4 separate regions of the Homo sapiens genome follow, and regions 2, 3 and 4 are each linked to region 1. Evidence: promoter capture Hi-C in 16 types of primary human blood cells and fetal thymus (Javierre and others, 2016). All regions are on one chromosome and are shown on one strand. Each heading gives the region's core, a stretch centred on a gene start or on the middle of the fragment in contact. The rest is flanking DNA. Distances are from core to core; before and after follow the strand shown.

Evidence for each region. The method cuts DNA at HindIII sites, captures the fragments that hold promoters and counts their contacts. A CHiCAGO score of 5 or more calls a contact.
Region 2: a contact is called between a fragment that was not itself captured here and the fragment with the promoter of USF1 in region 1, in 3 of 17 cell types (naive B cells, megakaryocytes and M1 macrophages). The highest score is 7.3, in naive B cells.
Region 3: a fragment that was not itself captured here is called in contact with the fragment with the promoter of USF1 in region 1 in 1 of 17 cell types (fetal thymus); the score reaches 5.2 in fetal thymus.
Region 4: a contact is called between a fragment that was not itself captured here and the fragment with the promoter of USF1 in region 1, in 1 of 17 cell types (M2 macrophages). The highest score is 5.4, in M2 macrophages.

Annotation. Positions count from the first base shown.
Region 1 is chr1:161,040,302-161,047,463 of GRCh38, reverse strand. It overlaps USF1 (upstream transcription factor 1), which reads left to right and starts at 1,487. Exons shown (of 11, transcript NM_007122.5): 1 at 1,487-1,606; 2 at 4,104-4,196; 3 at 4,582-4,631; 4 at 4,794-4,909; 5 at 5,247-5,348; 6 at 5,618-5,813; 7 at 6,053-6,140; 8 at 6,592-6,650; 9 at 6,794-6,888; 10 at 7,134-7,162. The coding sequence starts at 4,189. It overlaps ARHGAP30 (Rho GTPase activating protein 30), which reads left to right. Exons shown (of 12, transcript NM_001025598.2): 12 at 1-518. RefSeq lists enhancers at 637-1,517, 1,128-1,607, 720-1,919, 1,518-2,398, 2,458-2,687 and 1 more. The HindIII fragment of the contact is 1,293 bases long and covers 1,058-2,350 here.
Region 2 is chr1:161,369,599-161,376,346 of GRCh38, reverse strand. No RefSeq gene overlaps it. Among named protein-coding and RNA genes, the nearest start is that of CFAP126, 5.1 kb to the right of the region's middle. The HindIII fragment of the contact is 1,575 bases long and covers 1,685-3,259 here.
Region 3 is chr1:160,766,155-160,773,233 of GRCh38, reverse strand. It overlaps LOC105371470 (a long non-coding RNA gene), which reads left to right. Exons shown (of 3, transcript NR_188636.1): 3 at 1-524. Among named protein-coding and RNA genes, the nearest start is that of LY9, 26 kb to the left of the region's middle. RefSeq lists enhancers at 4,762-5,211, 5,242-5,291. The HindIII fragment of the contact is 361 bases long and covers 4,605-4,965 here.
Region 4 is chr1:160,667,180-160,673,746 of GRCh38, reverse strand. It overlaps the pseudogene SETP9. Among named protein-coding and RNA genes, the nearest start is that of SLAMF1, 23 kb to the right of the region's middle. RefSeq lists an enhancer at 715-774. The HindIII fragment of the contact is 6,892 bases long and covers 513-6,567 here.

The DNA of each region.
Region 1 (7,162 bases), core at 238-2,737:
TCATTGGCCAAAGGGAACATAAGGTAGGCAGAAAACTTAAAAGAGTTTGTTAAAGTGAAGACTGGAGAAATTCCTCCCTTCCTCTGAGCTGTGAATCTCTCTTCATGAAAGCCAAAGGTAGAGACAGGGAGGACAGGGCCAGGTTAGGGCCTTCCACACACAAACACTTCTAGAGTTGCCCATTCCTGTTATGTTCTTGGACCCTAAGATACCTCCTGTCCCTTTTAAATCCAGATTAAGAGAAACGTCCAGGAAGAGCTCTTTGAAGCCCTCAATATTTGTTGGAGGGACTGGACTCCTCTCCAGCTCCCCACCCTCTGCCTCCAGTCACCATGTGCAAGAGAGGTCCTGTACAGATCTCTCTGGGCTCTCCTTTCTCCTTTGGAATAACTTGTTCCTATTTCAGGAAAGGGAAATGGTGTCACTCAGGCCCTGGGACTGCTTCTCCAGCCAGGCTGGGGCCACAGGTCCCACTCTAGTGAAGGTCAATGTCTCAGAATAAAAGCTGTATTTTTACACATAGTGTGGAGTCTCATTATTCTTATTAAAGTCTTTGGTGATAGGTATTATATCTTCACATATTTGGCAAAACATTCTTTTTCTTCTTCTTGTTTGGGTGCTCTTCCTCAGTTGTTGTCATGGAGACTAGTGGCCAGAAACTAGAGCTAGGTTCATGGTGGTCAGGAAATAAGGAAGAGAAACTTATATTTACATAATGCGTTCATTATGTGCCAGGAACTGGACTAAGTATCCTGTGCTCACAAAATCTATGTCCTTGATTTTATTTAATCCACACAATTCTGGAAGGTTGGTGCTAGTATCTCCAGTTTATAGATGAGGAAACTAAGGCTCAATTAAGTCAAAATGTTTGCCAAAGGTCTCAGAGGTAAGAAGTGGCAGAGATGGGTTTGAAACCTGGATCTGCCTGGCCCCCAAGCTTGAATTTTTCCCATTATACCACACTACTCCAAATCCATTCAGGGTAGGTCTTGATTGAGAAGAATGGGAATCAAGATTCCTGTCACAGAAGGTGTGAGCCTTTAGAACACTAGAAGCTTTGGGGTCTTTGGATGAGTGACTGCTGACGCGAATAACAAGGAACATATCCAATTCTATGCATGCCCCGATAGGTCGTAATCTCTAGCAGGTAACCTTTCAAAAAGACGCCCTGCGCCAAGATGGCCTCCCAAATAGCCCTTGTTAAAGATGGCGCCTCCGTCGGACGTCCCTCCCTTGATCTCAGCTGGATTCTCTTCTTTCCTGGAATGAAAAAATGCCCTGCCAAGCACTAAGATATTAGTACAAGTTAGTCGTCTCTTTCCCGTTCTTGTCGAAAGTGGCCAGGCCTTCAGCTACATTCTCCAGGACACGGCTTCTTTCCGGCTTCACAAATAACCCACAAACACCAACTCTCATCAAGATGGAGTGAGCGGAAGTGGGGCAGTTCTGAGTTTGAGTTTATGGGCGGGGCGAGAGCGACACTTCCGCCCCTCACCAACATGGCCGCGGGCTGGAAGTGCGCATGAGCAGCTGTCTATGGAGATACCTAGGCCGGGAGAGGGAGAACACAGTTGGAGAAAATCGGCAGCTGAGACGGCCTTGGCCGGTGAGTGTAGGACCGGGCAGAAGTCTGGAAACTGGGTGGACTGGCAAGGCAGGGCAGCTTTGATTTTGTTTCCGTTTTTCAAGTTAGAGAACACTGCTGGGGAGGAAGCCTTTGTTTTGGGGGAGGGGGCTGTGCTGGTTCTTTATCTCATACCCTGCTTTGTGGGCCAAACTCTCTCCCTTCCCCAGAGCGCGAGCGTCCCAGCCCTCCTGCGCTGTCCAGCTGCGCGCCGCAGCCGCCGGCACCGGGCGCTTGAGCTCCCTAGTCCCCGAGGCCCTTTCCTGCCTCCTCCGCGGAGCAGCTGGGGCGCGGGGCTAAGACTGCGGGGCTGCGGGGTCACGGCGCAGGCTCCCGGGCTCGCGCCTGGCGGGCGCTCAGCTCCGTAAGCGCCTTCTGGTTGGTGAGCCTGCAGGGAGACGCCTCATTCTAAGGCAAGGTCTAGGTGCCTGACTTCTTTCGGGAGTTGATTTTTTTTCCCTTTGTGTCCAGACTTAGCAAGGGCTCTTACTGGGCCCTTCTGGCCTGAGCGTGCACACCACAACGTCCCATCCCTGTTTCCGTGTCACCGATCCCTAATGCCTAGGAAATGCTTCCGGATGTCCAACTAAGATTTGAATAAGTACCCTGACCCCGTTGCTGGGTGTCCTCAGAGACTGCCCCGGCTGACAGCTGTGGCCAATAGAGATGCCTCCTGTGCCGGGCCCTCTATTTCATTGCCTTCCCCTGCAGTCAGCGCGGCAAGCTTCGCAGGGCATTTCCTCTTCAGGTTTGAAGATGGAAATGTAGGTGGTCCCAAAACACTAGTGCTACTTCCCCTTATCGACTGGGATCTCCTTGCAGCGTTACTTCGTCTGTACGGTTTCACTTTCAGTTCCTTTTTCAACATTTTCCTCGGACGCGGTCTTTCCGAGGCTTATCCATTGAAAATTTTCCTTGGATAGGAAAGGTTTGGAGGACCTTATGGGTAGAGAATTTCCAAAAATCTTGCCCCTTTTGTGTTGGGATTATCTTATTGCTTTGTACTGTGTAGCTGTTTCTTTCTGGAGGCATGTCTGCCCAGCTCTTTGTTTTTCCTGCCCTCTGGCTGGGTGTCAGGGTCCTAAGGCAGAGCTTGTAGGTGGATTCTTCCCCCTTTGTCTCTTCTTCAGAACCCTGTTTTTTTTTTTTTTACCCCTTCTTGCTCAGGCTTAGTTGATTTGGAGTTGTCATAGCAACATTTTAGCAACAGTGTTGTTCTGCAGGAAGGCTTGATGAATAAAATAGAGAATGCTTGAAGAGGATCCACTTGGGCTTTAGGGTTTCTAACAGATTATATAAATCTGGATACCCCAAAACAAGAGTCCTGTCAGTAGAATGGGGCCCAAATGCCAAGTCTAGTCTTTGTGGTCAGGGATATTCTTCCAGTGGTAGTGGGCTTCAGATTTCCTCTTCCTAGGTTTGAAAACAGAAATGTCTTGATGGACAACATGTGGCTGAGAAACTGGAAGAAGCATCAGTGTCCATGACACTGTATTTTTTGATGGTGGGGCCAATACATGGCCCTTCCTGATTCCCATGAAGCTGCCATCATGGCAGGTCATAATAGCTTTAATGATCCATTTAGAGATGTGTTGTTGGCTGGGTGCGGTGGCTCATGCCTGTAATCCAAGCACTTTGGGAGGCCGAGGCAGGCGGATCACCTGAGGTCAGGAGTTCCAGACCAGCCTGGCCAATATGGTAAAACCCCATCTCTACTGAAAATACAAAAATTAGCTGGGCGTGGTGGTGGGCACCTATAATCCCAGCTATTCAGGAGGCTGAGGCAGGAGAATCACTTGAACCCAGGAGATGGAGGTTGTAAGCCGAGATTGTGCCACTGCACTCCAGCCTGGGTGACAGAGCAAGATTCTGTCTCAGAAAAAAAAAAAAAAAAAAGAAAGAAATGTGTTGTTTCGGCCAGGTGCAGTGGCTCACACCTGTAATCCCAGCACTTTGGGAGGCTGCCGAGGTGGACAGATCATGCTCTCAGGAGTTCGAGACCAGCCGGGCCAACATGGTGAAACCCCGTCTCTACTAAAAATACAAAAATTAGCCAGGCGTGGTGGTGTGCACCTGTAATCCCAGCTACTCCGGAGGCTGAGGCAGGAGAATCACTTGAACCTGGGAGGCAGAGGTTGCAGTGAGCTGAGATCGCGCCACTGCACTCCAGCCTGGGTGACAGAGAGAGACTCTGTCTCAAAAAAAAAAAAAAAAAAAAAGTGTTGTTTCTGTCTTCCAGTATAATTATCCACTCTCCACCAGGAGTTGGAGTGATAATGGAGGGATGGGGAACACTATTTGTAGCCTTGCTTTTTCAATCACTGTAGGCCAGTCCTCAACATCAGTATGGTGGAGGCTGATTGTCCCCTGCAGATGACTGGGTTATTTTCCTGGCTATGTGTTCATGGAACCTAAGTTCTAGAACCAGAGATACTGTTCTGTTTCCTAAACTCATTGCAAACTTCATGATTTCTACCAGGACTTAGCACTCAGGCCTGTGAATCAGGAGATACAAAGACCTCCAAAAAAGGACCAGTTCCTCGGATGTGCCCCCTCACAGAGAGATGAAGGGGTGAGTGAAGAAGAGGTAGGGTCTGGGATGAAAGATGGGTGGCCTGGAAGAATGCAAAATGACCAAGAGCACTGCCTCTGGAGTCAGGCAGACCTGGATTCAGGTTCTACTCTATCACTTACTGTGTGATTTGGTTTCTCTATCTATAAAATGGAAGTAGTGCTATCTATCTCGTGGTGCTGTTTTTAGTACTAAATAAGATTACATGTAATGTACTTAGCTTAGTGCTTATGTACATAGTAAACAGTAAACACTAGTTGTTATTCTAACCTAACCCAGCTTCTGTTGGGAATGCCAATGAGTTTGCAGCCATATGTTACTGGGCCAGTGAGCTTCTCATTGACTTCTTCTCATACTCTTCCTTTTGTCCTTTCACCACAAACAGGCAGCAGAAAACAGCTGAAACGGAAGAGGGGACAGTGCAGATTCAGGAAGGTGAGTGCTAGAAACAGAACCAAGACTAAGAACCCATCATGGCCTCCCTTCCTTCCCCACCAGACCATCTCCTGTGCATCCTCCTCCTTCCGTGACATGCAAATGGAACGGGGGTAGAAAGGCAGTTAACTCACAGACTTTTCCTTTGTTCTTTTAATTCAGGTGCAGTGGCTACTGGGGAAGACCCAACCAGTGTGGCTATTGCCAGCATCCAGTCAGCTGCCACCTTCCCTGACCCCAACGTCAAGTACGTCTTCCGAACTGAGAATGGGGGCCAGGTAAGGGAGGGGGCCAGGTGGCTGCAGGTGTTATCTGGGGTTGGGATTGAGGGAGGTAATTGAACATGTCTTGGGGAGACCTGGCTTGGAGGATGAGTTGAAAGAGTGGACTGTTGCAGGGGAGGGAGGTGCTAATACTGGAGTAGAGACTGGTGTGAGGTTAGATGTATGCTGAAACCTCTGTGTGGGGAAAGAAGGGAGAATGGCTGAATCCATGTCTCTGAAGGACTTTGTTTTGGGGCCCTATCCAAGGGAAGCTTTATGAGGGGCCCTAGGATTCCCAACACTTAATCTTTTCTTCTCTCTTCACTCCCTCTGCCTTCCTCTACACTTCTAGGTGATGTACAGGGTGATCCAGGTGTCTGAGGGGCAGCTGGATGGCCAAACTGAGGGAACTGGCGCCATCAGTGGCTACCCTGCCACTCAATCCATGACCCAGGTACAGGGTATGGGCTGGGGAGGTCACTAGAGTTCTGAGAAGTAAGATGAAGAAGGGAATCAGTAGGATGGGGGTGAAGCTAGGAACAGTGAGGCATCTAAGGCTGCCTTGTCCCAAAGCACTAGGCTCTCCTTTTCTGGATGTTTCTCTCTCTCTCTCTCTCTCTCTCCACCCTACCTACCACCCCAACGGATAGAAGCTGCAGAGTGGTGTAGTGGGAAGAAGTTTTTGACTGTTACCAGAATCAGTTTTCTTGCTCCCCTTCCCAGGCGGTGATCCAGGGTGCTTTCACCAGTGATGATGCAGTTGACACGGAGGGGACAGCTGCTGAGACGCACTATACTTACTTCCCCAGCACGGCAGTGGGAGATGGGGCAGGGGGTACCACATCGGGGAGTACAGCTGCTGTTGTTACTACCCAGGGCTCAGAGGCACTGCTGGGGCAGGCGACCCCTCCTGGCACTGGTGAGATATTGCATGAGGATGCTGGCTGAAAGGGCTAGAATAGGCTGTGGGACATGACTGGTAGGCAGTGAGCCTTCACTCATGACTCTTAGTGATCATTAAGACCTGGACAGGCAGTGAGTCTGGGGCTGCTCTTCTATTAGCATGTTCTTTTTAGAGGAGGGGACCAGGGTCTTCACCTCAGGGCTTGGTGAGGTTCCTACCCATGTCCTGACAGAACCTACCCTGCATCTTCACAGGTCAATTCTTTGTGATGATGTCACCACAAGAAGTACTGCAGGGAGGAAGCCAGCGCTCAATTGCCCCTAGGACTCACCCTTATTCCCCGTGAGTGACCCTTGTTTCTTCTCAGATTCCGTAAGTGGTTTTTTTTTTTTTTTTTTTTTTTTGAGACAGAGTCTTGCTCTGTCACCCAGGCTGGAGTGCAGTGGCATGATCTCAGCTCACTGCAACCTCTGCTTCCAGGGTTCAAGCGTTTCTCATGCCTCAGCCTCCTGAGTAGCTGGAACTACAGACATGTACCACCACCCCTGGCTAATTTTTGTATCTTTAGTAGAGACAGGGTTTCACCATGTTGGCCAGGCTGGTCTCGAACTCCTGACCTCAAGTGATCCGCCTGCCTCGGCCTCCCAAAGTGCTGGGATTACAGGTGTGAGACACCACACCTAGCTACCATAAGTGGTCCTAATACCTGCTAAATCTTGTATAATTCCTTAACCCCAAACTTCAATCATGTATTTTGTCTTCTTACTCTGGCCACCCTGGGCTCTGTTGTCAGGAAGTCAGAAGCTCCCCGGACGACTCGGGATGAGAAACGCAGGGCTCAGCATAATGAAGGTAGGTATGATCTGGGTGGAGCTAGAAGCTGTCTGGTGTGATCTCAGCAGTGATGTCTGAGGGGAGGAGGGATTAGGTAATTTTACCCTGGGACTTGTGGCGAGTTTTCACTGAGTCACCTTGTCCTCCACTTTGCCCCACAGTGGAGCGTCGCCGCCGAGACAAGATCAACAACTGGATCGTGCAGCTCTCCAAGATAATCCCAGACTGCTCTATGGAGAGCACCAAGTCTGGCCAGGTCATGGAAAGACCCTGGTAGTGGGCAGGATGCCTGAATTCTGCCTCCTGGTATTGTTTCCAGAAATGGTAGAGAGAGGGGCACACATGACAGTAGTCTTATCTCTCCCTGAGGTTCCTGTATCCCTGGGAGATATTATACCACCTTCCTTAGATGAAAATGAGGTCCAAAGTGTGAACCTACTTTTGGAAAGCAAGCTGGGTATCTGAAATCCTAGTTCTCATTTTGTTGACCTTATCTTGCAGAGTAAAGGTGGGATTCTATCCAAAGCTTG
Region 2 (6,748 bases), core at 1,223-3,722, 330 kb before region 1:
AGGCGCCCACCACCATCTTCAGCTAATTTTGTGTATTTTTAGTAGAGATGGGGTTTCACCATGTTGGCCAGGCTGGTCTCAAACTCCTGACCTCATGATCCACCCGCTTCGGCCTCCCAAAGTGCTGGAATTACAGGCATGAGCCACCACGCCCAGCCCTTTACGCATTTTTTTAAAAAGTTTATTCTCTATTATTAAGGTTCAGAGTTTAATATTATTAAATCTACTTAAATATATTTATTATGTTGTTTAGGTCTTCTGTATCCTAACTTATTGTTCACTTGACCTTTCTAGATCTGAGGGATTTGTTAGTCCTCCTATTATAGTGTGCTTCTATTTCTCCTTGTATAAAATGTCATTATCTTTATAAAAATTGTGGCTAAAATTTCTTTCTCTTTTCTCATTAAAAGTAATGCTTTTTAGTCAGAATTCTACTTTGATGGATAATTACAACTGCAACCCCTGCTTACATTTAGGAATAAATTCTGGTACATCTCTTAGTCATTTATTTAGGCTTCCTGAAACTCTTCTTAGATGTAGCTCTTTTATATAGCACAGTGTTGGACTTTGCTTTGTCAATGTGAAAACTATTTTCTTTTAATAGGTAGGTAAACCCATTCTTTCTCTCTTTCTTTATTTAAACCCTTTCTTTCTTTCTTTTTGATACGGAGTCTCGCTCTGTCGCCCAGGCTGGACTAAAGCGGCACGATCTCGGCTGACTGCAACCTCCGCCTCCCGGATTCAAGTAATTCTCCTGCCTCAGCCTCCCAAGTAGCTGGGACTACAGGCGTGTGCCACCACAGCTGGCTAGTTTTTGTATTTTTAGTAGAGACGGGGTTTCACCATGCTGCCCAGGCTGGTCTTGAACTCCTGACCTCAAGTGATCCGCTGCCTCAGCCTCCCAAAAAGCTGGGATTACAGGCGTGAGCCACCGTGCCCAGCCCCCTAATCTCTCTTTACTGATAGTTGTACTATATTTACAAGATTGCCAAGAAATGTGGAAAAGTTAATGAATACATATTAATGGTTTATTAATATATTTAAATACATGATAAAATAATAGTATCTATTTCCAGACTTCATGGTCAACCTGTATATTGTTAAAGCACATAGCCAAGATATCCTATACTGGTGCCATTATAACCATCATTTATTCTTAGTTATGCAAGTAAACAAACTTAATTCACACCACTAGTGAGAGATACTGATGTCTTTTCAGTCATTTTGGTTGTTTAAAGCTTGTTCTTTGGTCTTTTTGTTTTGTTTTAAGAAATAGTGTTATAGGCCAGGCACAGTGGCTCACGCCTGTAATCCAACGACTTTGGGAGGCCAAGGCAGGTGGATCACCTGACGTCAGGAGTTCCAGACCAGCCTGGCCAACATGGCGAAACCCTGTCTCTACTAAAAATACTAAAATTAGCAGGGCATGCTGGTGTGTGCCTATAATCCCAGCTATGGAGGGGGGCTGAAGCAGGAGGATCACTTGAACCTGGGAGGCGGAGGTTGCAGTGAGCTGAGATGGTGCCACTGCACTCCAGCCTGGGCAACAGAGCAAGATTCTGTCTCAAAAAAAAAAAAAAAAAAAAAGGAATGAAAGAAAAGAAAAAGAAATAGTGTTAAATAGCTCTATGAATGCTGCAGAGAGGGCTACCCCATAGGCAGTGTGTGGGGAGTATACAAAGCTTGTTCTTTGGCTCCTCAGGAAGGGGATCTTATCAAGAATATTATTCTTTTGTGGTATTGTCAGTGGAAAGGAGAGATGTAACAGCAGTCTCCGAGAGAGGGAGCCTTAGTCTCAGGAAAGAAAACTGGATCAGCTATTTTAACTCTATAGAGAAGTTTTGAAACTATAGCTTTTACATTTGTAGCCATGCATCTCTTCAGGGGTCAGAACTACGCCTTCATTTCCTATAAGGAAATCTACAAAAACCAGGGTGTTTGAATAGTTCAAAATTTGGCCAGTAGCTTGGTTGGATGAAATCCTGTTAGCCCAGGAAATGGGGCAAAAGCCAGGTCTCCTATCCAAGACCCATCAACACCTGACCCAGTGAGGTGACATGGAGGGCACCTTGGAGCTACTTAGAAGAAACCTTAGTAGAGAGCTGATGGTATAACTAGAGACAGTGATTCAGGTGGTTACACTGTGTAATAGATGAGATAAATGCCCCATTTTTACTATGAAGGGGTTACTAATAATTTTTTCTGGTTTTAAAAATTGCCATGGGAGGCCGGGCGCGGTGGCTCACGCCTGTAATCCCAGCACTTTGGGAGGCTGAGGTGGGCGGATCAACTGAGGTCAGGCATTCGAGACCAGCCTGACCAACATGGAGAAACCCTGTCTCTACTAAAAATACAAAATTAGCCGGGTGTGGTGGTGCATGCCTAAAATCTCAGCTACTCGGGAGGCTGAGGCAGGAGAATCGCTCGCTTGAACCCGGGAGGCGGAGGTTGCGGTGAGCCGAGATCGCACATTGCACTCCAGCCTGGGCAACAAGAGCGAAACTCCATCTCAAAAAAAAAAAAAAAAAGAAAAGAAAAGAATAAAGGCAGTGAGAAACAGAGATGATAAAGAAGAAACAGAAAATCTTTCTGATCATGTTCTATCTTTGAAATTCTAGTATCCTTTGAAGCCCAAACTATACTTCCTACCTTTGGAATCTGTTAAATACTCCTATTAATTATAATTTCCCCACTTCCCCTTTTTTGTTTAAGGTAACCTGAATGAGTACTTCTTACTTGGCAGTCTTAAGCCAATAATAATGCTAAAATAATTGAGCATTCATTATGCATCTTGCACCCTATTAGCATGTTACATATATTTAATGCTCAAAACTAAGATTATCCCCATTTTACATGTAAGGGTACTGAGACCCAGAAAGATTAACTTGTGTAAGGCCACACATTTAGGCAAAGCCAGAATTTAATCCAGGCAATGTGACTCTAGTACTTATGCTGGTGGTTGCCTTCACGTAGGTCCAATGTACACATCGCCTATAGAGTACAGGTTAAACTTGTACTTCAATAGCAGATAATCTCAGTCCAAATAAAAGATTTCCTAATGGTTTAGTTTCAGTCATCAAAGAATTTAAGTGAATGGAAAAAAGTATCTTAAGGCATACGTAAAGGATGGGGCCTTTAAAGAGCCCTTCCAACTTTGGAAGAAGTAAATCTGGTCCTAGTAAAAGACCATCTGCTGTACCTGAAGTCAACCAGTTCATCTGAAGAAAGGCTAAAATTCAATACACTTTTATTAGAAGCTTAAAATTGCCTGTTACTACTGATATTACAATTTCCTAGTGAAATCTTTTTTTTGTTGAGACGGAGTCTCGCTCTGTCGCCCAGGCTGGAGTGCAGTGGCGCGATCTCGGCTCACTGCCAGCTCCACCTCCCGGGTTCACGCCATTCTCCTGCCTCAGCCTCCCGAGTAGCTGGGACTACAGGCACCCCCCACCACGCCGGGCTAATTTTTTGTATTTTTAGCAGAGACGGAGTTTCACCGTGTTAGCCAGCATGCTCTCGATTTCCTGACCTTGTGATCCACCCCCCTGGGCCTCCCAAAGTGCTGGGATTACAGGCCTGAGCCACCGCGCCCGGCCTGAAATCTTAAATATTAGAATTCACATAGGATCAAGCCAGGACTCCACCTTGGATTTTTTTTTTTTTTTTTTTAGACGGAGTCTCACTCTGTCGCCAGGCTGGAGCACAGTGGCGCAATCTCGGCTCACTGCAACCTCCGCCTCCCGGGTTCAAGCGATTCTTCTGCCTCAGCCTCTGGAGTAGCTGGGACTACAGGCGCGCGCCACTACGCCCAGCTAATTTTTGTATTTTTAGTAGAGACGGGGTTTCACCATGTTGGCCAGGATGGTCTCCATCTCTTGATCTCGTGATCCTCCCGTCTCAGCCTCTCAAAGTACTGGGATTACAGGCGTGAGTCACCGCGCCTGGCCTTTTTTTTTCTTTTTTTTGAGATGGAGTCTCACTCTGTCGCCCGGGGGATGGAGTGCAGTGGCGCAATCTCGGCTCACTGCAACCTCCACCTCCCGGGTTCAAGCGATTCTCTTGCCTCAGCCTCCCGAGTAGCTGGGACTACAGGCACGTGTCACCATGCCCAGCTAATTTTTGTATTTTTAGTAGAAACAGAGTTTCGCCATGTTGGTCAGGCTGGTCTCGAACTTCTGTCCTCAACTGTTCCACCTGCCTCAGCCTCCGAAAGTGCTAGGATTACACGTGTGAGCCACTGTGCCCAGCGTGTACCTTGGATTTTAGATTACAGAGAGACAAATAATCTAAAACGATCACCTTTCTCTCTAGAACAGTGGGTTAGAGGATCCAGAAACAGACCCAAATATGTTAGGGAATACATTAAAAATGGCATTTCAAATCAGTAGAGGAAAAGAAAACTTATTAATGATGCCAAGGCAACTAGTTAAGGCAACTGAAGCATAACCTTGTCCACATTCACTAAAATTCCAGAAGGAACAAATATTTAAATGTAAGAACTGAAGCTAGGGGTAAATTATTTTTAAAATATTGGAATTCACAAAAAGCCATTCAAAGCATAAGATCCAGAGCACAGAAAAAATGAGTAATACATCTGACTACTACATAAGTACTAAAAACATGTCCATGGCAAAAAAAAAAAAAAAAACCCACAGAAAAACAACAACAAAACAGAAAAACCACCAACAAAATGAAAGTAAGTGACAAATTGGAGGGAATATTTGCAACATATTTGACAAAGGACTAATTTCCTTAATATATGGAGTTCAAACAGATTAATGAACATGATCAACAGGCTGGGTGCAGTGGCTCAAGCCTGTAATCCCAGCTTTTTGGGAAGCTGAGGTGGGCAGATGGCTTGAGCCCAGGAGTTCAAAACCAGCCTGGGCAACATGGCAAAATCCCATCTCTACAAAAAAAATTAAAAAATCAGCTGGGTGTGGTGGTGCATCCCTGTAGTTCCAGTTATTCGGGAGGCTGAGGTGGGAGGATTGTTTGGACCTGAGAGGCAGAAGTTACAGTGAACCAAGATGATGCCACTGCACTCCAGCCTGGGTGACAGAGGGAGGACTGGTTTCAAAAAAAAAAGTCAACAGCCCAATAGTAAGTGGCAAAATACATTAAAGGCCATTTTCAGGGAAAAAAATTAAAATAAAAACAGTTTATACACATATAAAAACACCCTAATTAAAGAAATGCAAATTTAAAACAATGATATACCATGTTGGGTGGGTGTGGTGGCTCGTGCCTGTAATCTCAACACTTCCAGAGGTCGAAGAATCACTTGAGGCCATGAATTCAAGACAAGAGGAACAATATAGTTAAGACCCTATCTCTTAAAAAAAATTTGTTTTTTTAAATTAGCTGGGCATGGTAGCTCATGCCTATACTCCCAACTACTTGGGAGGCTAAGGTGGGAGGATTGCTTGACCTCAGGATATTGATGGAACCACTGCACTCCAGAGCTTAGGCGGCAGGGAGACCGTCTCAAAACAAAAACAAAAAATAAAATTATATACCATGTTTAACCTACAGCTTAACAAGCAATATGATATAATGGTTAAAACTGCTGGCTCTAGAGTCAGAATACTTGGGATTAAATCCTGGCTCTACTCCTCACTGTGTATTCTCCAGTTTCCTTGGTTGGGTTGAGAACTAAATGAGAAAATGTAGTAAAGCAATTAGAACTGTGCCTGGCATGTATATAGTAACTGCTCAGTTAACATTAGTTCTACTAGTTCAATCAATTAGTTCTATTAGTTCAATTCTATTAGTTCAATTAAAATTGGTTTAAACTGAAAAAAAAAGAAAAAACGATGATGTTGAAAAGAAAGCAGAGAACTAGGCACTCATACGCCATCATACACCACTGGTAGAAGTACAAACTGGCACAATGTCTTTCAGTGGTAATTTGACATTATCTACTTATTTTATTTTATTTATTTATTTATTTTTGAGACGGAGTCTCGCTCTGTCTCCCAGGCTGGACTGCAGTGGCGCGATCGTGGCTCACTGCAAGCTCCGCCTCCTGGGTTCACGCCATTCTCCTGCCTCAGCCTCCTGAGTAGCTGGGACTACAGGCCCCCGCCACACGCCCAGCTAATGTTTTGTATTTTTAGTAGAGATGGGGTTTCACCATGTTAGCCAGGATGGTCTCGATCTCCTGACCTCGTGATCGCCCGCCTCAGCCTCCCAAAGTGCTGGGATTACAGATGTGAGCCACCGCACCCGGCCTATCTACTTATTTTAAATGCACAAACCCTTTTGACTTTGCAATGTACTTTAAAACATTTATCCTACAGATCACATATGTACATAAAAATACATACATACATATTCATAAAGATACATAGGGATTTTTCATTACAGCAATGTCCTTATTAGCAAAAGACTATAAATAAACTAAATGGTCATCCATATGGGTCTGAACAAACTATGGTGCATCCCAAAATGGAATATTATGATAAAAACATAATCCCCAAGATAGTCAAAAAGCAAATCAAAAAGCAATGTGGACAGCTCTCTCATTAGTGTTTGTATGCAGAGAAGATTTCTGGAAGGAGACACAAGAAATGAGTAACAGCAGTTGCCCTGAGGAGCAAGACTGAGAGTTGAAATCAAATGGAGATTTGCTTTTCACTGAACATCCTGTAAACATGAAATTTTTTCCATGTACATTACTTTTTCAATTGAACAAAAACTGGTTAACTTTTAAAAATGAGTGCAGTCATCATTTATCATTACATTC
Region 3 (7,079 bases), core at 3,536-6,035, 280 kb after region 1:
TTTCTTCTTTTTATTTTGCATAGAGACAGGATCTAACTCTGTTGCTCAGGCTGGTCTCAAACTCCTGGCCTCAAGTGATCTTCTCACCTTGGCCTCCCAAAGTGCGGAGATTACAGGCATAGACCACCATGCCTGGCACACTTATTTGTTGGTTTACTTATTTATTGTTTATTTCCCTCACAAGATATTCAGCTCTATGAGGATAAGAACTATTTCTATATATATTTTTTCAAAACTAAAAACCCAAAGGGTAATAGTGTTTGGCTTATGATAGATACTTCAACATTTACTGAATGAATGAAAGAATGAATTGGAGTTGAGAATATTTTTTCTTAAGATTTGAAGACTATTAGGAGGTTTTACAAGGATCTGGGGCCTACACCATTGTCTGTTTTCTCTTTCTGCTTTTGATGGAGAGAAGCAGCAAATTAAATCTTTATCCTAAAAGTTTCCTAGAATGCTCAACAGTTAGCAAAAGAAAAAGTTAAAATAAAAGAAACATTTATGTTTTGTTTTGACAGAAAGCTGCTCTGCAGTGCTAGATACGTTAATCTAGAATTTGAACCATATACAAATAACTGAACCAAAAGCAAAATTTAGGTGGGAAACTTTGAGCTTCTCTTTCTTTTTCTTACTCTCAGTTGATCAGCTCATTTCCTAGTTCATTCACAGAGAGGATTGGCAAATATCACCCATTACACACAAAGCTTCCAATCAAGTAGTTAATGACTTATTTGGAAATATAAGAGGGCAGACAGGATCACAAGATATTTGGGGAAGGCCTCTAACATGAAAGACAATCTCCAAACCAAATGAATCAGGGGGAAAAAAGAAACTTGGAAGAAAAGAGATAATACAGGGAGCAGGAGAAAATTAAATAAAATCCCTCAAACAATATTCTTAGAGACATATAAAAAGATTTTCACTTAAAAACAGAAACAGGGTGCCAGCCTAAGAAAAACTGAAAAGTCCAAGAGTAAGAAAGAGCCCTAGTAACAATAAATACATAAATAAAAAGCAGAAAACTTCTAAAATTCAATGGAAGTGTTGGAAAATCAAATGAAGAAACTCTCTCAGAAAGTAGAACTAAAGACAAACAGATGAAAATAAAAGAGAAAAGATAAGGCCATTAAAGAATCAGCCCAGGAACTCCAACCCCTGGATAACACAGTTCCAGAAAGGGACATGTCTTAGTCTATTTTGTGCTGCCATGGCAGAATCCCACAGATCGGATAATTTATAAACAGTAGAATTTTATTTGTCTCATGATTCTGGAGACTGGGAAGTCCAAGATCAAGGGGCTGCATCTGGTGAGGACCTTTTTGCTGCATCATAACATGGTGGAAGGCATAACATGATCAGAAAGTGAGTGTGTGTGTGTGTGTGTGTGTGTGTGTTTGTGTGTGTGAGAGAGAGAGAGGGGAGGGGGCTGGACCCATCCTTCGATTAGGAACTCACTCCCCCAATAACTAACCCACTCCCAAGATAATGGCATTAACCAATTCATGAGGGCTCTTAAAATTCCCACCTCTCAACTCTGTTGTACTGGGGATTAATAGAGGCAGCAGGACCAGAGCACCCAGTGAAAGACATTATCAACTATAGGAAAAACAAAGAATGGTTAGGAAGGAAATTGAATACTCTACATGGCTCGAATGTGAATACTTATTGTCATAAATGTTAAATACAGTTTAGCAAAAAGCTATGTTACAACATACTCTGGCGGGATGGGCAGAAAGGCCTTTGTGTTGCTGAGTGGCTAAAGAGTGTGGAGGACAGTGGATGAGAGAGCCAAATACCTATCTCCATAGCAGGAAGTCAATAACTAATGTCTAAAATCAAGAAAGGACAGAACAAATATATCATTTCTAAATATCAAGGAAGTATCATGAGAAAAAACAAATAATTGACAGTGGTTGCCAGCACAACAGTTGCCAGAACAGCAGTTCTGGGTGTAGTGTGGCAGAAGACTGCTGCTTTTTTTTTTTTCAAAATTTATTATGTCTTATGCTATTAGTTGAATTTTATAACTATATATATGTAGTATTTTGAAAAAAATTAAAATATTAGAAAGCACATGCACCAAGAGATGAAGAACAATAACCAAAAAGAGAACTCAAAGGTCTAGGAACTTGACTGGGTGGAAATGGGAGGATTTTAATGGGCCACGGGGTTCTACAGGAAGAGTGAATGGTTTAAACAAAGAGGCAGAGACTAATCAGTCAAATTTTAGTTGAAACAAAATTAGAGTTGAATATCTTTTCTCCAAATCTAGGTCCAATTATACATTCAACAAAATTCAACATTACTGACTAGTTAATATTTATGCTTATTTACAGATATAACAAAATTTCATAGCTAGGGAAGCAGTTCTGGGGCTGTCAGTGATCTTGCTTGTTATTCCAGACAACTGTCATTCAGGGACTCCAGGTAGCATGATCCTGAGAGCAAATGCACCATTGTTAAAGGCATAGACGTATAAATACAAACCTCTGCCACAGAGCACTATTCACTCTTTGCGTCTGAAGAGAACCAGAACCCCTTAACTCTTGGGCGGCAGCCTGCCGTCTGAATGTGAAGGAGAAGGAAGAATTAGTACAATGCCTGTTTTTGAGCTCTTCAAGTCACCAGCATTTTGTAGGAGTGGAATGCTTCATCTCCTGGCCCCTAACTTCGGGGTAGCAAAATGAGAAGCTAATGCCTGCTGGAAAGGGTCCCAAGATAGAGAAGCTAATGCCTGCTGGAAAAGGTCCCAAGATACTGAAAGCTCTGAGATTGCACTAGAAGAGAAGAGCTCAAATCCTGCCACTTACCCACAAAAAGCCAGGGAAGTGAGTGTCTACTGGAAATTGTTTTAGGTGTGAAGTATGAACTGTATGTATCTGAAGGCTTCCTGCCTTGGTGCTGCCAGATGCCCTTGCTGTGTGACAGGAGGAGGTGAGAACAGGTTGAAAGAGGAGGAAACGACTAATGACCCTTAGGAGCAGATCGATTACCACCCTATGAAAGAGTAAGTTGACAGTTCAGACTATGCAAAAACAAATTGTTGGAAAAGCCCCCTTCATTTTTCTTAGCCGAAAAGTAAACAGATTGCTACAATCTGGCATCTCTGTAGTTTTACCCACTCTCTCCACACCCCAAAGTACAGCCATTAAAGCCCCACGGTCACTACACATGTCTCTGTGTTATGACCTTGCTTTTCTTTCTCCTCGAGGGGACTCATTGACCTTTCTCCATCTGGCTCAATCTGTGTCAAGTTGCTTCTTGACCCATTTGTTTTTCCATCGGTTGTGAGCTCTTTGAAGTTAGGGGTCATGCTTTATCCATCCCTGCTTCTTGGCCATAGCACATAGTTGGTGCTCACTAAATACTTGCTGAAACACTTGTCAACTAAAGAAAAGCCAAGTTTTTAAAGAATTAAAGTGAGTTTTATTTAGTCTTACTGAGGTTGGCAACCCAGGAGAGTCTTTCGGAGAGTTTCTGTTAGACTGCTCCAAAGCAGTGTTTCAGCCTACAGCTTATACATAAGGTGACAGTCATTCTGCCTGTGCTCAAAAGTTATGTAAGAGCAAAATTTCACCAAAGTTTGGGTGCAAGGGTACATCTAGTTATAGATTACAGAGGCATAATGATTAATCCTGTCAACCATTATCTTATGTACAGCAAAAAGACAAAGGCCAGGATCATTGAATTTATCTTTTCTAAAAATGCAGTGATTTAGGTAAGAGATGTGGTAACCTGGGCTCCATCCTTCTTATCATCTTCAGGGCATCCTTCCGAAGGGCTGTCCTCAGTCACTGAGTCAGGGGCTTTGTGAAATTCTGCTGGCAGCTGAATGAGCAAACATGGCCTCTTATGTTTGCTACTTTGTCTTACAGAGTAAGTGAATGTAAAACAAAAACAAAAACAGAATGAATGAATGAAAGTCTCTGTGAGAGAAGCAACCTATCCATTGCTGTTTGCCTTTCCCACAGTTCTGGGTTTGGCTAGGGAGAGTTCACATCCCTGCTGATGTTTATTTTAAATTTCGAAGCAATAAGGAAATTGAAAAATGGACACAAAATTCAGGGGTATCTATTTCCTTTCTATTCATACAGCCTTATATTTTGCCTTCTAAGCTATTCTTTTCCTTGTATTCTTTTTAGACTCTCATTCAGATTATGTTACCTCAATATTCTTCCCTTAGAAGACTTTAAGAAGCAGATTCCATTCAACAGTTTTACTCTACAGAAATACTGTGTGTAAGGCCGGGTGCGGTGGCTCATGCCTGTAATCCCAGCACTTTGGGAGGCTGAGGCAGGTGGATCCCCTGAGGTCAGAAGTTTGAGACCAGCTGGCCAACATGGTGAAATCCCATTTCTACTAAAAATACAAAATTTAGCTGGGTGTAGTGGTGCACACCTGTAATCCCAGCTCCTCAGCTACTCAGGAGGCTAAGGGAGGAGAATTGCTTGAACCTAGGAGATGAAGGTTGCAGTGAGCCAAGATTGCACCACTGCACTCCTGCCTGGGCAACAGAGTGAGACTCCATCTCAAAAAAAAAAAAAAAAGAAGAAGAAGAAGAAGAGGAAATACTGTGTGTTTTCCTCAGTGTTCATGAAGCTTAATGTGCAGGTATTTTCATAAGGTTCTATATTTTATTGAAAAACAGACAACAAAACAAGAAACAGACTAGTAAAATTGCTGAATATGTGCATGGTTTGCCAGCTGGGCCAAGAGGAGGCAGCAGTGAGCTAACCCAGGGCTTGCTGTGTGGCTTGGAGGATCCTGTCACCATCAGCCTGCATTGTGACCTTGCTTTCATTTTCTCTCTCTGAGATGAGGGAGTTAGACTACATGATCCTTAGAGTCTCTTCCAGCTCCAAAATTCTCTGTGTAAGTTTTAAATAGATGTTTGGGACTGATTTAGGTCTGGGAAGAGAAAAGTGAAGGAAACAGACAAAAATTCCCTCCGTTTATGAAGCTTACATTCCCATGGGGCCTTCCAGACCCTACGGTTGTCATAGTGGCGAGGAGGCTGCCTGGATTGGAGGGTATGAGGCTGGGTAGGAAGTCAGACCAGGGCTTGACCAGTAGGCATCAGACAGATCCAGGGACCAGGCAAAGCAGGAAATGAATGAAATTCACTGGGTCCAAGTGAGATGGGAGCAGGGAACAGGCTCTCCACAGAGCCAAGCAATCAGAGGGATTGTGCTAGGTCCCTAACTGACCAGGAGGAGACAGGCAGAGTTGTACCCACAGGACAGTTGGGCCTGCAGAACCTCCAGAACCAGAAAGTCCGTTTAGCAGCCTGACTCAGCAAGGCTTGCTTCTGCTCCTGGGGAGATGCACAGGTCCCAGCATGCAAGTGACTGGGAGGGAACATGGAGAACACAGCAAAGAGGAGGAGCTAGAAAGAGCACCGGAGGAGTGAGGGGAGGAACAGCTCAGAGCCTTATAGCTGACAAGCCTTCTGTAAGGGTGGCGTGAATGAGTGAATGACACAGAGGGGAGTGTTTGCTACTTTGCTTGATCTGTGAGCACTGGTCAGCTGCCTCTTATTATATGCCTCAACTTTATAATGATATGATTAACTGCTATTCTCAGGTCTTCAGTTACTCTTTATACTTAAAGTTCTAGAGGCTCAGTTCTGAATGGAATCTATATAATTAGCCAGTAGTCTCTTTATGATGAGGTAACTTCTGTCGAAGGACTGTGATGTTATACTCTGCTGAACACTTTACGTGTATGATTATCTTTACCTTTAATCTCACTACAATCCTATGAGGTAGAAAGTATCTTTCACATTTTATAGAAGAGAAAACTGAGGTTCCAAGAAACTAAGCATTTTGCTCATGGTCATAGGACTAAGAGAAGATACATGACGTCCAGAGTTGCTTTTCTCTTTCTCTCTCTCTTTCTCTATCTCTTTCTCTCTCTCTCTCTCTCTCTCTCTCTCTCTCTCCCCCCTCCCCTCTCTGTATCTCTTCCTCTCTCCTCTCCAAGTTTTCAGTGTGGTGAAAGTAATGCAGATTAGTGACTAACCACTGTGGGTAGCATGGGTTTTTTCTTCTTTTTCCCCTTTTTAATTACACATCCTTTCCTTTCGTTTTCCTGGTGCTCTAAGCCAGCTCACCCCTGGTTTTTTATTCTGCCTTGTTTGGGATGGAGGTGGTATGCATGGAAGAGCAAAAGCAAAAACTTTAGGTAGCCTCAGCCCTAAAGTAGAGCCAGGATCCACACCAATGTCTCCTCTTAACTGCCTCAACCACTTGCCTTGCTGTCTGCCCATCTTTGAAGTGGAGATCTTAGTGGTTAGCCTCTGGGCCTCACCTTCATCTCTCCCTGTCCTCATCTTGTTTGCTTTCTTCCCAGACTAACTCAGCTCCAGGATTGTCCCTTCTGGAAGCTATCCCATGCGGCTGTCCCTGCCTTATACAGGATCTACCTTGGCAGAGGGAAAACAACTCTTGGTCCTTGTCATGGTAAATTTTATGTGTCAACTTGACTGGGCTAAGGGATGCTCAGATACCAGATAAAATATTGTTGCTGGGTGTTTTCAGAGGTCATCAGCATTGGAATCAGTAGATGAAGTAAAGAAGATTGCCCTCACCAATGAGGGCAGGCATCACACATCTATCGAGGACCTGAATAGAACAAAAACGCAGAGAGGAGGGATAAGGAAGGACTTGTTAAAGATTACAAAATTATAGCTAGATAGGAGGAATAAGAGGAATAAGTTATAGTGTTCTATACCACTCTAGGATGACTACAGTTAACAATAATGTACAGTTTTAGATAACTAGAAGGAGGACATTGAATGTTCCCAACACAAAGAAATGATAAATGTTTGAGATGACAAGTATGTTAATTACCCTTATGTTATCACTACAAATTATATGGCTCTAAACATCACTATGTACTCCAAGAATATGTACAATTATCATTTGTCAATTAAAAATATATACATACCATGGAATACTATGCAGCTATAAAAAAGAATGGGATCATGTTTTCTGCGGGAACATGGATGGTGCTGGAGGCCATTATCCTTAGCAAACTAACACAGGAACAGAAAACCAAATACTGCATGTTCTCAC
Region 4 (6,567 bases), core at 2,709-5,208, 380 kb after region 1:
TCTGAATTCTCGGTTGGGTAGTGGATCTGTTGATTTTCTTCATGGTAGAAACATGACATTGCAGCAAGATCGGGAGCAGCCTGCATACTCACTGTTTGGCATGGCAAAGATGTAGTAGTTTCCACAGTGGATGCTGCAGGCATAGTCAGGCTTCACTTGTCTTGCCACCCTGGCCACCAGGTAAGCAGATCTCCAGCAGCAAGAGGTTTTATTGATACATCATTGGTGGGAGCTGAGTGGGAGGAGGGCCGGAAGAGGCCAAGCCAGAGATCTCCCACATCAGCACACTACTCAGTGGAGAGTTCCCCACCCCCACCCTGAAAGCCGTTACACCTGTGCTCTACAAAAAACAGAGACAACCACCAGCAGCCAGGTAACTAAGACATAATTTGGTCCTCTCCTCCTGGCCCTATATGATTTGAGAATCTGGAACTAGATGAGGTAAAATAGAAGGGGAAAGATCAGACCACACCCTCTTCCCTATTACAGATTTTTAGATCATGAGACAAGCTTGGGCTGAAGTGACAGGAACAAGTAAAAGGGGAGTTTTACATCTGAGCCGTACTGTTAAGTTACTGGAAGTGATAGAAACGAAAGTGAATGATTTTCCCAAAACCTCCTTAAGTGATAGGAGGCAGATTTGACACAGTCCTCATGTGAATGGGGGAAAATAGTTCTTTGATGTTAGCTCCCAACATACCAAGTTCAGACTGTTCAAAAAACAGTTAGATGTATTCATTGAGCAGCTGCTATGAGTCAAACACCTTTCCAAATTTAACACTGAGAATGGCAGGGATAGTTCTTGTCTTCCTACATGTTTCGTTCTGGTCTGGAAGATAGTCATAAGGGAAATTAGTAATTTAATCCCAATGATGTCAATGGCTGCATGTGTCAAATATGACAATTGCTAGATGGAAGAACTATTTCAGACTGAGATAAGTCAGGAAGATTGAATCTTCTTTTGAGGGTCAGATTCCTTTTGGAATCGAGACTGAAAAAGGAGAGGTGTTAGATAGGTCAGAGGGGTATGTGTGGAAAAGCCTTCAAGGAGGAGGAAGTAGGAGAATGCAAGGATAGCCGAGAAGAACAAAACAATCTGGCTGCTGGAAAGATTTGCATAAAAAGGTATCTAAATAAAGCTGTTGCCTAATTTCTAGACGGCAAATAGCTATCTTGACTAGTGGCTCTGGAAAAGTAAACCAGTTCTCAAAGTATGAAATATTATTTGTCATAATAATTCTGGGGTTATGATTTCACAAAATCAGAGTCATATTAATGAGAGAAATCTCTTTTCCTAATGTAACTGAGGCCTGCTTATTTATTTAGACACCTAGTGAGAAAATCTCACCGGTAGGGAGATTCAGCTAGAATGCAGTGGACCCATCTTCTGCCTAATCCTTTACACCTGTGTTTACCTTTCCCCAGTTTAAAATCAGCTTTGAGTGAGCAAAGGAGAATTTCACTTAGCATCTGGCCAAAGATGAGGCATTTGCATTTGTAAAAGATGAGAAAGGATGAAAAGGACAGAAACCGTGCCTCCTATATCAGCTGGTTGTATGCAAGATACCCAGATAAATACAGGTGGGGAAGAATTTTATGGGAAAGGTTTTGTAGTAACTTGAAGAATCAAGAGAAAAGCTAAATATTAACATCTAGATAGCAAGATTTAATGTGCAAAACTTTAGAATTCTTCAAGCTGAATCAGCCCCAATTGTTTTCCAGGCTTGTGATACTATGCTTCATTATGCAAATTTTTATAACCTTTGTTCTTCCTCAAGTTCCCTGTTCTCATGAGATCTACTGAACAATTCAGTAAAGAACCTTATATATATATTCATGGTAAAGTGGGGTGTATTTTTTCCTAAGGAAAAACTAGTAAGGCAAGAGACACTGAAAAAGGTCAGTGATCCCTCCCCAGTCAAGGGCTTTGGAGGGGTAAGACTGGAGAATAGTCAGCTCTATTCTTTTGCAAATTTCCAGGTAAAGTCAAAGATAGTTACTGGTAGCACTGGCCAGGTCCTCAGGCCAGATATACCGTACACAACATAGCTGCTTCATTATTATTATTATTGTGTGTATACATTTAGTTTTATTGTAACAAAGAAATCTGTACACTTTTAATGTTTAAAACTGAGCATCATCTTTCCTTTCCAGTGAAACAAAAAGAAAATTTAAAAATAAACATGCCAAAGGAGAAGCCATGTTGTTAAAATGCCCACTTAACCCACCCAAACATCTCATACTCACCCTTTGATGACTTTCTATAACCTCATTTTTTACAGGTTTTTTTTTCTTTTTTTAAACAAGAGAAAGTAGACAGATACATGTTGATAAATGATGGTCCATATTCACACAGAGACACACGGTACTCTCTGAACCCAATATACAGAGAAAGGAGAAAAGAAGCTAGAATTCTATGCACTGCTACACAGGGGTCTGGCACTCTCCAGCTTCCAGCAGAGCAAAGGGAGAAGGTTTTTCTTTTCTCCCACAGAACTTGGTGGTGTTGATTCCATACAGTTTTTGTTCAGACAGGAAGAGATAAGAATGAATTCTGAAGAGAAAGGGGTAGAGAATATTTTCCCATTGTATTATGCTCAAGGCATTTCCCCCCAAATAAGTTGAAAACCATGGTGTAGAGAAAAGAGACCTCAAGAACAGCGCGACTGAGCACAAGAGGGGAAAAAAGAAAAAAGACTGCAACTTGCTCCCAGGGACTGGAGAAAATTAAAAAAAAAATTGTTCAGAACATCAGTGTTCTGTTAGTCATCTTCTCCTTCATCCTCCTCTCCTTCCTCAACGTCATCATCATCTTCCTCTTCTTCGCCTTCATCCTCATCCCCTTCTTCATCAATATCTTATAATCCTTCCTCTTCTTCATCATCATCATCATCTTGTTCTTCTCCTTCTTCTTCATCATCCACATTGGGAACCAAGCAGCACTGTTATGGGTTTGGCCAAGTACTACCTGTGATGACCTCTCATAACTCACCAGCACCTGCATCAGAATGGTCAGTAAAGCAGGTCAAGAAGCTCTCTGGTGCCTCAGGCTGCCTCTTCCTACTGGCTTTATTCTTCGTTCGACTTGAACGATTCGTTACATCCTTTCAAGATTTCCATTTGATTTCAGTGGACTTTGAAGATGGATCGCCACTCTCATTTAGATGAAATTCTTTGGAGAGGAGTTTATTTTCAAAGTAAGGATGTTCATCAAAATAAAAATCTATTCTGTAACCTAATTTAGTATCTTCAAATTATGTCACTTCAACTCTGGTCATATAATGCAGTGCCTCTTCATCCTCCTCCACAAGCAGTGCAGACACTCGTGGGTGGTTGACAAATGATGTTACCCAAAAATGTGGGATTTGGGCCATCAATGATCAATTCTGACCTCTTCTGAAAAAATGATTGGCAGAGTTTGTTCTATTTCTGTTCTACTTTCAAATTCTCCTCACTGGCTTGTTCATGAAGTCTGTTTCATTTTGTACTTCACAAATGTGTTCAATTGCTGCTTGCTATTCTTTTTCTGAGGTCTCGTCTGCCCGGTTGCGGTTGGAGTTGAGCTCCTTTCTACTGACTTTAGCCGTTGGCACAGACTTGGTGCTGCTTGGAGTTCGGGGGGCGGGGGGCGGGGTGTGGTGGTTGGGGGGAGAAACGGGAACGGGGAGAGAAGGAATGGGGAAGCGGGTCGGGGGTAGGCGGCTTCCCCTAACTCCACACTCGCTGGCACTCACTCGGTCAGGCCGCCTCCGCTCCCCGTTCGCTCGCTCTCCCAGCGCTTGCTCGCGCATGCTGCCCTGGCATATGATACATAAAATGTATATAAAAGACAATATAAGTGTAGTTTTTGTTTGTAATTTTTTTCTCTTATCTGATTTAAAAGACAATTTTATAGAACAATAATTATAAATCTGTGTTAATGACACACATGTATAAAGATGTAATTTGTATGACAATAACAGCAAAAAATGTGGGCAGGAGAAAAAGCTGTGTGAGAACAAAGTATTATATTATTGCAATTAAGATCATTGTAACCTCCAAACCAACTATGAAGAAAATAAATACAGTAAAAAAAAAAAAATGACAAGGGAACTTAAGTGTACAGTAGAAAAAATATATTTAATACAAAAGAGGGCACTAATAAAGAAAGAGAAGAACACACACACACAAAAAACCTATAGAAAACTAATAGGAAAATGGCAAACATAAATCCTACCATATCAGAAATTACATTAAATATAAATGGATTAAACATTACAAATAAAAGGCAGAGGTTATTAGAGTGGACTAAAAAAAATGGGTCCACTATATGTTGTGTACAAAGGACACAGTTTAGATTCAAATACACCTATAGGTTGAAAGTAAAAGGTGGAAAAAGGTATATTATGTTATGGAAGCAATAACCAAAAGAGAGCTGGGTTTAGAAACTGAGATCAGTCAAAATATGATTTAAGACAAAAATTGTTGTAAAGACAAAGAAGGACATTTTATAATAATAAGAGTTAATGCATCAAGAAGATATAACAATTATTAATATATATGCACAGAGCCCCAAAATACATGAAGCAAAAACTTACTGAATTGAAGGGATAAATAGACAATTCAACAATAATAACTGGAGAATTCAATATCCCATTTTCAATAATGGATTGAACAACTATACATAAAATCAACAAGGAAATAGAAGACTTAAACAACATTATAAACCAACTAAACTTAACCAAAGTCTATAGGACACTTTACCCAACAACAGCAGAATATGTGTTTGTTGTTCTCAAATGCACATGGAACATTCTCCAAGATAGACTATATGTTGGGCTATAAAACAAGTCTCAACAAATATGAAATGACTAAAATTACAGAAATGTCAAAAGTATGTTTTTAACCACAATGGAGTGAAATTATAGATCAATCACAGAAGGATATTTGGAAAATTCATCAAGCTACATACTTCTAAATCAAGCTACATACTTCTAAAACAATGGGTCAAAGAATAAATCATAGGGGAAATTACAAAATACTTTGAGATGAATAAAACTAAAAATATTACATATCAAAAACTTATGAGATGCAGGAAATCAATGCTTAGAGAAACTTTTATAGCTGTAAATGCCTAAATTAAAACAGAAAGATCTCAAATCAATAATCTAACCTCCTACCTTAAGAAACTATAGGCTGGGATTAGTGGGTCATTCTTGTAACCCTAACACTTTGAGAAGCTGAGGCAGGAGGATCACTTGACCTCAAGAGTTCAAGACCAGCAACGTAGTGAGACCTTGTTTCTACCAAAAAATTTAAAAAATTAGCCAGGTGTGGTGGCTCATGCCTGTAGTCCCAGCTACTTTGGTGGCTGAGGTAGGAGGATTGCTTGAACCTAGGAGATCAAGGCTGCAGTGAGCTGTGATTGTGCCACTGTACTCCAGCCTGAGTGACACAGTGAGACCCTGTCTTGAAAGAAAGAAAGAAAGAAAGAAAGAAAATAAACTATAAAAAGAAGAACTAAGTTCATTAAGAAACTATAAAAAGAAGAATAAACTAAGCTCAAAGCAAGCAAGAGGGAGAAAATAATAAAGATAAAAATGGAAAGAAATGAAGGAGAGAATACAAAAATAAGAGAAAAACAAATTTAAAGTTTGGTTATTTGAAAAGATCAGCAAAACTGACAAATGTTTAGGTAGACTGATAAAATGAAAAACGGAGAAGACTCAAAGGACCAAAATCAAGAATTAAAAGGGGATATTACTATTGACTTTAAAGGAATAAAAATGATTACAAGGGGGATAGTATGAACAATTGTATGGAAATAAATTAGACGAAATGGAAAAATTTCAAGAATCACACAGACTACCAAAACTGACTAGAGAAGACAGATGCGATAGATCAGATAGATAAAGGGAGGGTTCTTGCTTGCAATAGAATGCCAAATATGGAGTGAGGTGCTAAAGTGAAGAAAGTTATTATTTTGTAACTATCACAATTAAGACAGGCTCAGGCAAAAATTATCAATGGATGCTAAATCTCAGAGGAAATTTTGATGAGGAGTAAGATGTCTGCATGGCCTTCCACTGTATGCCAACACATAGTTATTAGTTAAAATCAAAAAAGATAACTATACAATAGAGAAATCTGGCAATCTGTTGGCAATATATTGGCCAGGTGATTAAAATTAACATTATCGATGAGAAGACATCAAGGGTCTCTAGATGTGATACCTTGAGGGTACAATGTCACTTGTGTAGTACCTAGTCTGGGAATGCATAATGTGAATCTAATCATAAGGAAATACCAAAAAACCCCAAGTGAGGAATTTGCTATTAAAAAAGAGAGGCTGTAATCCCAGGACTTTGGGAGGCTGAGGCAGGCGGATCATGAGGTCAGGAGTTTGAGACCAGCCTGACCAACATGGTGAAACCCCATCTCTACTAAAAATACAAATACAAAAAAATTAGCTGGGTGTGGTGGTGCATGCCAGCTACTCAGGAGGCTGAGGCAGAAGAATCGTTTGAACCCGGGAGGTGGAGATTGCAGTGAGCCGAGATTGTACCACTGCACTCCAGCCTGGGTGAC